2 separate regions of the Homo sapiens genome follow, and region 2 is linked to region 1. The links are contacts of gene promoters, found by promoter capture Hi-C in blood cells and fetal thymus (Javierre and others, 2016). All regions are on one chromosome and are shown on one strand. The core of a region is centred on a gene start or on the middle of the fragment in contact, and the rest is flanking DNA. Distances in the headings are between cores, read along the strand shown. Region 1 holds the start of SMARCC2 (SWI/SNF related BAF chromatin remodeling complex subunit C2). Region 2 holds the start of NABP2 (nucleic acid binding protein 2).

The links. The method cuts DNA at HindIII sites, captures the fragments that hold promoters and counts their contacts. A CHiCAGO score of 5 or more calls a contact.
Region 2: the fragment with the promoter of NABP2 here is called in contact with the fragment with the promoter of SMARCC2 in region 1 in 2 of 17 cell types (endothelial precursors and megakaryocytes); the score reaches 14.5 in endothelial precursors.

Annotation. Positions count from the first base shown.
Region 1 is chr12:56,186,769-56,190,962 of GRCh38, reverse strand. SMARCC2 (SWI/SNF related BAF chromatin remodeling complex subunit C2) reads left to right here and starts at 1,480. Exons shown (of 29, transcript NM_001330288.2): 1 at 1,480-1,612; 2 at 3,657-3,776. The coding sequence starts at 1,502. It overlaps TRS-CGA4-1 (tRNA-Ser (anticodon CGA) 4-1), which reads right to left and starts at 599; the gene lies at 518-599. LOC107984468 (a long non-coding RNA gene) reads right to left here and starts at 271. Exons shown (of 2, transcript XR_007063330.1): 1 at 1-271. RefSeq lists an enhancer at 834-933 and silencers at 1,174-1,453, 1,524-1,743. The HindIII fragment of the contact is 5,408 bases long and covers 1-3,424 here.
Region 2 is chr12:56,222,248-56,225,956 of GRCh38, reverse strand. NABP2 (nucleic acid binding protein 2) reads right to left here and starts at 1,615. Exons shown (of 7, transcript NM_024068.4): 1 at 1,516-1,615; 2 at 1,022-1,123; 3 at 446-584; 4 at 262-333. The coding sequence starts at 1,100. RefSeq lists a silencer at 1,527-1,766 and enhancers at 2,498-2,792, 2,209-3,142, 3,624-3,709, 3,143-3,709. The HindIII fragment of the contact is 18,635 bases long and covers 1-3,543 here.

The sequences.
Region 1 (4,194 bases), core at 231-2,730:
TCTCCCAGGAAGCCTGAAGTTACAAAATTCTGAAAATGCCTCACAGTCTAGCAGCCAATACAGTCGTGCATAATTAAACTTCCCAAGATCACTCCCATCCTCCCAAATCCAGGGGTTAAGACCTTTTGGCGGCTTCCCTTTTGGAGAGAGAAAGTGCACGAAAGAAACGTGTGAGAACTGGGGTTACCTTTATGTGCTGTGAAAGGGGTTAAAAAAGTCGACGCCTGTAATCCCAGCATTTTGGGAGGCCGAGGCGGGCAGATAACCTGAGGTCAGGAGTTTGAGACCAGCCTGGCCAATATGGTGAACCTGTCTCTACTAAAAATACAAAAATTAGCCAGGTATGGTGACGCATGCCTGTGGTCCCAGCTACTCGGGAAGCTAAGGCAGGAGAATTGCTTGAACCCGGGAAGCGGAGGTTGCGGTGAGCCGAGATCGCGCCACTGCACTCCAGCCTGAGCAACAGAGCGAGACTCCCTTTTAATAATAAGAAGAAGAAAGAAAAAAAAAAAAAACCCGTCACGAACAGGATTCGAACCTGTGCGGGGAAACCCCATTGGATTTCGAGTCCAACGCCTTAACCACTCGGCCACCGTGACTTCCAAAACCGCGCTTTATCGCGCGCTTACAGAAGGGGTCCGCACTGCAATCCGGGAATGCGTGCGGGAACCGGAAGCAGGGTACCGGCCCCGACACACACACACCTGAGGACTCCCCACCCCTCGGTTCCTTACCTCCTATCTACGCCACCCAAAGAAAAAGAGTCGGATGGACTGGGTGACCCAGGGAGGGAGGGTCTCCTGCCTAGCGAAGAGTCGGGGTCTCGAGTAGGAGCTCACACCTACTTAGGAGGCGACAGCGAGGCCTGCGGAGGAAGCAGTTGAGGGAAGGCACTGGGCCGCCAGGGTGGCGACTAGGGGACATTTGGGTTAACAAGTGAGGGGAGTGCTGGGTGGACAAGGCGCGAGGAGTGAGGGAGACTCTGAAAAGTTTAAATGGGGAGCTGCTGTGAATGGATGGAAGGAAGGAACTTCTTGGGGAAAGGGGTTTGGGGTTTTGGGGGACGAGGGGCTTCGTCGGGTTAGGAATGCGCAAGGTGAGGACCACTCGGGTCTACGGGTTGGGGCTGCTCCAGCGACTGGCGGCCGCCTGGAGTGGGATAGCGAGGTGACACTCCCGAGCTGAGGCAAAAAGAGGGAAAGGGCTTCGCGTCTGGTAAGAGCGATCTCAGGAGAATGGCGCCCCCTCCAGGAAGCGTCCTTCTCCCCGGAGGCTCCCGCCTCCGCTGCCGGGGAGGCCGCCAGGGTCGGCCCGCGCCTGGAGCTCCGCCGCCGCGCCCGGCCTGCCGGCAGGGGGCGCAGCGCGGACCGGGGCCGGCCCAGGCGGCGGGAGGCGGCGGCCGCGGCGGCGGGAGGCGGCGGGAGGCGGGCGGAGGAGGAGGCGGAGGAGGCGGGAGCTGAGCTGAGTGGGGCGGGCGGCGGCGGGGCCCGAGCCGGAGAAGATGGCGGTGCGGAAGAAGGACGGCGGCCCCAACGTGAAGTACTACGAGGCCGCGGACACCGTGACCCAGTTCGACAACGTGCGGCTGTGGCTCGGCAAGAACTACAAGAAGGTACGCGGGCCGGGCCGGGCCGCGCGGGGACCGGGGGCGGGACAAAGGGACCGCGGCCCTGCAGCCCCGGGATCCTGCCTACCCTCCAGGCGCCCCAGCCCCTCCCCCGCGGCCTCCCAAGCAGCCCCCCGCGCGCCCTCCTGCGCTCCCGCGCCCCTCCCCCAGCCTCCCTCTCCCCGCACCCCCAGCCTCTGAGCCCAGCCCCCGCCCCCACTGCTGCGCCCTCTGCCCCTTGTTTTTCTCTACTGCCCGGCGGGCCCCGGTGCCATTAGCCCACCTTCCCCTCAGCCATCGCCCTCCTGGCTTTTCTGGGAGAGGCGGCCGGCCGGGTGTGGACCGGGTGCCCAATGGGCTCCCCCGCAACCCGGAGCGTGCCCGCCAGAGCTCCCCACGGAGCCAGGTACCAGCGGGGCTGAGGCCTCTCCGGTGCTTTGTGTATGTTCAGAGAGAGAGAATGGAAAGCAGGAGGGTAAACAGTCACAGAGCAAGCCGTTGGCTGCTCATCAGCCTGAAAAAGGTCTCCACCCAGGGATCACCTGTCTCCGCCGCTCATCCCCCACCTTCATCTAAGGGGCAACAGAATCTCTCAGGGAGCCGGGGTATAGGAGTTCCTGGGTAGCGGCCCCTTCCGAAACCTTTCCTCGATTTTACAATGAAGTCACCTTGCAACCTAGCTTTGCAGTACCCTGGGTTTGGGGTCGAGAGGTTAGGGTGAGCTTCCTATCTCTAGCCCCTCACACCCAAACCCCATAACTGGAGATCATAAGGTGGTGAACAAAAGGTTCAAGAATCCTTACCTGTCTTTTCTACCAAACCTCTTCCTGGTGTCGTCTTTGTCTCTAGGCCTGGTTTTCTCTGGAAATGGTCTGCCTCTCTTTTTCTCACTACCCTCAGAGAGGGATTCTCTTTATGGCTTTCTTTCAGCTCCCCAGTTCTTCCTGCCGGCTTTGCAGCTCGTCAGAAGTGTGCTTAGTGGCTTAGGAGAACTTCCTACTGATGCTGGTTGTGAGCCTGGCCCTGCCCTTGGGGTCTCTCTGGGTGTGAGAATCCTGACAAATAGCTGCTATTTCTATGGCATGTCTCTACGCCTGTGAGAGGCTCTTATTCCCAGGCTTCTACCTTTGACCTTTTGCAGGGAGATCAGGCTAGGGGCTTAGCCTCCGGCCTTGGGGGAATTGACAGTTGTGACCTGGTTCAGCTTCCATGCTCTTAGCTCTTTGTCATTTACCTTTCCCTTCACAGATCTATCTCTTTTCACCTCTCACTGAGAGGCACTGTCTTCTTTGTGATGAGTGGGGAGAAAACGGGTCAAAAAGTAAAAAGAAAGTCTCCTGGCTCAGGTTCAAATTAGAATGGAAGGCTAGGATGCTACTAGGTAGCAGAGTGTGGAAACATAGAAGTAGGGCCAGGGTTACTTGTCTCAGATACAGTTTCCTCGGACAGGGTAGATGTTGTCTTGCTCTTCTCCATCAGGCTGGGTAGTGGATGGCCCTTCCTGTCTAGGAGGGCCTATGAAGACATTTATACCCAGTCTTCAGAAGCAAAATGCACAAGCTCACTCAGTCAACTTGCCCTCCTTCACTTCCTTGTACCTTTTCTTGTTAGGCTACATTATAGGGGGAATCATGGCTTTACAGAGTTCCCCTAAGAAATGTCTCTCTTAGAGCCCCAGAGGTATTGCTTCCATGACCTGAACTTTATAAACCTCCAGAATTTTACAACCCTCAGTGCTGTTGGTTAAAGATGAGGTGCCAAGATAATAGGGTCCTGCAACTCCAATTTCAGAGTATAACTGAGGAAGAGTAGTAAGCTTCCCTGTTCCCCCCAACACTGGCCACCTGGGCTGGTGGCAGCAGAATTTCAGCTTCCTGGTTGGGGTGTCCAGGGCCTCCCTTTTGCCATTTTCTTTATAGAGACTAAATGGGGAGAAGGGCACTATTTTCTTTGCTCCACATGCTTCCAGAGCCCCTGGGGGAGAAATATGGGAGATAGTGGACAATTTATCTGAGATCTATTTTTCTTTCCTTTCCCTCTTTTTCCTTAGTATATACAAGCTGAACCACCCACCAACAAGTCCCTGTCTAGCCTGGTTGTACAGTTGCTACAATTTCAGGAAGAAGTTTTTGGCAAACATGTCAGCAATGCACCGCTCACTAAACTGCCGGTGAGTGCAGAAGTAGCAGGGAGGGTGGGGGGTGGTGGTGGTGAATCCTTCAAACTGAAGAGTTGTATTTTAAAAAAAGATTTGTGAATTTTGTAATTTTTGAAATTTGGGTTATTTTCCACCATCCCTATCCCTGATCAGGGCATTATTGGCTTGGCCTAGTCTCCAGTTTACCATTCTTTTTGTCTTAGTAATATTTTGTGCAACAAATTATTTCAGAGTACCTGGGATCAGTCCACAGGTCTCTCATGGCATGGTTAAAAGGGGACTTGAGATTTGGATTTGTGCAGGCTTGTGTTCAAATCCTGGCTTTGCCATTGGATGGCTCTGTGATCTTGGGCAACATTCATGAGTCTTGGTTCCTTCATCTCTAGATGGGATTAGTAAACCTACCTTGTAGAGTTTCCTTAATGGTACC
Region 2 (3,709 bases), core at 366-2,865, 35 kb before region 1:
GTGGTGAAGCACGCCTGTAGTCTCAGCTACTTGGGAGGCTGATGTGGGAGGATCACCTGACCCCGGGAGGTCAAGGCTACAGTGAGCCCAGATCATGCCACTGTACTCCAGCCTGAGCGACAGAGACTGTTTCTCAAAACAAACAAACAAACAAACAGAAAAAGTCCAGAAATGAGGCTTGGACTGCACACCCTATGCTGCCTCCTTGCAAACCCCTTTGCCCTGGTGCTTCTTCATCCCAATCCCCAAGACAGCACTTACTCTCCAATCTTCTGCAGATCACCCCCACGGCCAGTATATAGTGTCAGACAACCTTTGAAAACTGAAGCGTACCTATGGGAGGCAAAAAAAGCAAAATTCAGTACTCAGAAGTGTTATAGGGACTGTTAACCCCACTCTTGATTGTTGTTGCCTTTGGAAGGCCAGAAGTCACCAGCTGACTTACCCTTTGGTGAGCCGGATAATGTCCCCAGGCTGGATCAGATTGCCAACATCGTCCCAGACAGAGATATTGATGCTGCCTGTTTTGTCCGCCACTTTGCAGGTCCGAACCTCATGCCCGTCCTTTGTCTTGGTCACTCGGCCTGAACGGAACAGATAAATCGAGGTGGGAGGATGGTCAAATAAATGGAGTGGTATCTCTCAGAAGGATGAGATGTGGATATTGGTGGAATGAGGGAAAAGGTGTACAAACAGGGGAAAGCCCAAATCCCTGGGGCATAAAGGGTTGGGATTGTGGAAGGGGTGGTGGAGGGTGGAGGTGGGAGTTCAGGGGCCAGCACCATGGAGAGGGCCCTGAGTGGAAAGAGGCCCGCGTCGCACAGGAGGTCTAGATCTGGCAAGAGTTCTATCTACCCTATACCTGACTGCAACTTTCTGTCCCAGGGTCGAAGAGATTGGGAGTGAGGAGTGTCTTGCAGCTTGCCTTGCCATCCCCATAGCAAGTTAAGAACGCAGACAGCGTTCTTCCCCTCCTGCCCCCGACCCCCATCCCGCGAACCCGCCACCCCAGTATAGACACCTGTCTCCAGCACAATGAAGATAAGGTTCAGATTCTTGAGCCCAGGCTTGATATCCTTCACAAAGGTCTCCGTCGTCATGCTGCCTGAGCCTCGGCACCCCACTGGATGGGGAATAGAGGATGAAGGCTCAATGCTTGGATCCTTTGCCCCCATGCTCCACTTCCCAAGGCCTACCTACCCCATTAGGCTGGGGTCAGGCAGCCTCAACCCCTCTAACCCTTCTAAAAGATTAAAAAAGAACATCCCCGGAGGCCTCCAACTTCAGGATCAGAATTTGGGGGTCTCTGGACAGGCTGCTTTGGGGCTGGAAGGCCCCCTGCCGGGATGCTCTTTTAGTCTCAAGCCGCGAAGTGGCGGAGCCGACGTAGACAGGGGTAGGGAACCCGGTGCACAGCCAGGGAGTAGAATCTTACTGGCCAGATCTTCCGGAACCCTCATCCCGACAAGCCGGGACTCGGTCCATCCCCTCCCCTACCCGCAGCCCACCACCCACCCAAGCCAGCCGGCAGGACTGTGCACGCCGCTGAGCAGCCCGCAGGGGGAGCCACAGGCTCCGCTGCCGCCGGATGCTGCCCCGTGGAACGCGGGAGTGCGGACATTCCCGGAAGTTTCCCCCGGCTGGCCTCCTCCGGCCAATCAGCACCGCCCGGGCGCGCCCTGCGTCCCGCCGCCTGCCCTGCCCAGCCAATCGGGATCAGAGACTCGTGCGCCGCGAAGGGGGCGAATTTCAGGTATTAAAGGAACCTTGGAGATAGTTGGCTCTGTAGGGGGAAAAATCCACCACTAGAAGGCGCACAGGGCCCCCAGTTTTCCTTAACTTGGCTAGGGAGAATGCACTTAGGTTCTAAGACGTTTCTTTCCAAAGAGTGACACAATGGGAAAAGGAGCAAGGGCTTCGGAATCTGGCGGACAAAAGTTTGAATCCTGGCTCAATGCTTCACTTCATTTCTCGACTATTTAAACATATGTAATTCCAATTCCGCAAGGCGCGGTGGCTCACGCCTGTAATCCCAGCACGTAGGGAGGCATAGGCTGGAGGATAGCATGAGTCCAGGAGTTCCAGACCTGCCTGGGCAATATAACGAGACCCCATTCTCCACAAAAAGGGAAAAAAAGACAAAAAATATGTAATTCCATCTTACGAGAAAACGGAAGTTATATTTAAAAAAGTGCCTTGCACACAGTAGGCACACACGGTTTCCTCCCTTTTTATTGCTCTAACCGTTATCTTTGTTCCTGATTTGGGGTTCTCATCTTTAATGCACTACCCAGCTTGGTCAAGGTCTCTGGGAAAAGTGGCATTTACACCAGAGACAAAAGGCAGGCTCACCCTTCTTGGAAGAAATGGAACCTGCGACAAAGAGAGAAACATTGTTAGTCCCTTTTTTTTTTTTTTTTGAAACAGGGTCTCGCTGTGTAACCCAGGCTGGAGTGTAGTGGTGCAATCTTGGCTTACTGCAACCTCCCACCACAGCCTCCGTAGTAGCTGGTACTACAGGTTCGCACTACCACCCTCGGCTAATTTCTGTATTTTTTTTGTAGAGACAGTTTCGCCATGTTTCCCAGGCTGGTCTCGGACTCATGACCTCAAGGGATCCGCCCACCTCGTCCTCCCAAAGTGCTAGGATTACAGGCGTGAGCCGCTGCACCTGGCCATACTACTCTTCCCCGCCCCGCCCCACCGCTCCACCCCGGCAAAGGAGTCTTGCTCTGTCGCCCAGGTTGGAGTGCAGTGGCGCGATCTCGGCTCACTGCAATGCAACCTCTGCCTCCCGGGTTCAAGCGATTCTCCTGTCTCAGCCTCCCGAGTAGCTGGGATTACAGGCGCCCGCCACCACGCCCGGCTACTTTTTTTGTATTTTTAGTAGAGACGGGGTTTCACCACGTTGGCCAGCCTGGGCTCAAACTCCTGACCTCGTGATCCACCAGCCTCGGTCTCCCAAAGTGTTGGGATTAAAGGCATGAACCACCGCGCCCGGCCATACTACTCTTATCTTACTTATCTCAGAGTCCCGCTAGAAGACAGCAGAAAGGAGGCCTGAAACTTTAGTTCCTTTTGGGACCTGTCAAATTGTCCACAAAAGGTAGCTAGCTCTGTATTGTTGTGTATAAACAAATTACATAAAGATATGTGTGTATGTGTGTATTAATGTGCATTAGCATTTGCTTAGCCAATGTCCACAATAAATACCATACTATTTAATACCAGATTAGTCTAGGAAGTCATGTGATTGTAATGCCTTGGTTTGCTTAATTAATCCCTTATCTGCTCACGGAGCTCTTTAGGCTCCACATTGACTTCCCTTGGATCCCACGTTCTCTACCGCCCACATCCCCAACACCACGGTGTTGTAAGCTAAGGAAATCAAACCCCAACTCAGGAAGAGGGAAATTTTTTCTCCCTTCCTTCCTCTTAGGTGTTTCAGGGAACTCCACAAGTGTTCGGGGAGCCATCGTGGATACGGCAGGAGAGCGCCTGGGAGAGAGGCAGACAACCCGTTGAGCACCCCAGATCTAAGCTTTGCGGTCAGACTCCCTCACTCCCCACCCCGCGGCCGCCTTGTTAACTGCAATATCCATTCCCATGACAGGAGTCAAGGGGTTACGAAGCTCTGGGATGCTGACCAGGGCTCTGGAAAAGGGAGAGGGGCCGGACCCGCAGCAGGTCACGCTGCAGGCCTGCCTCT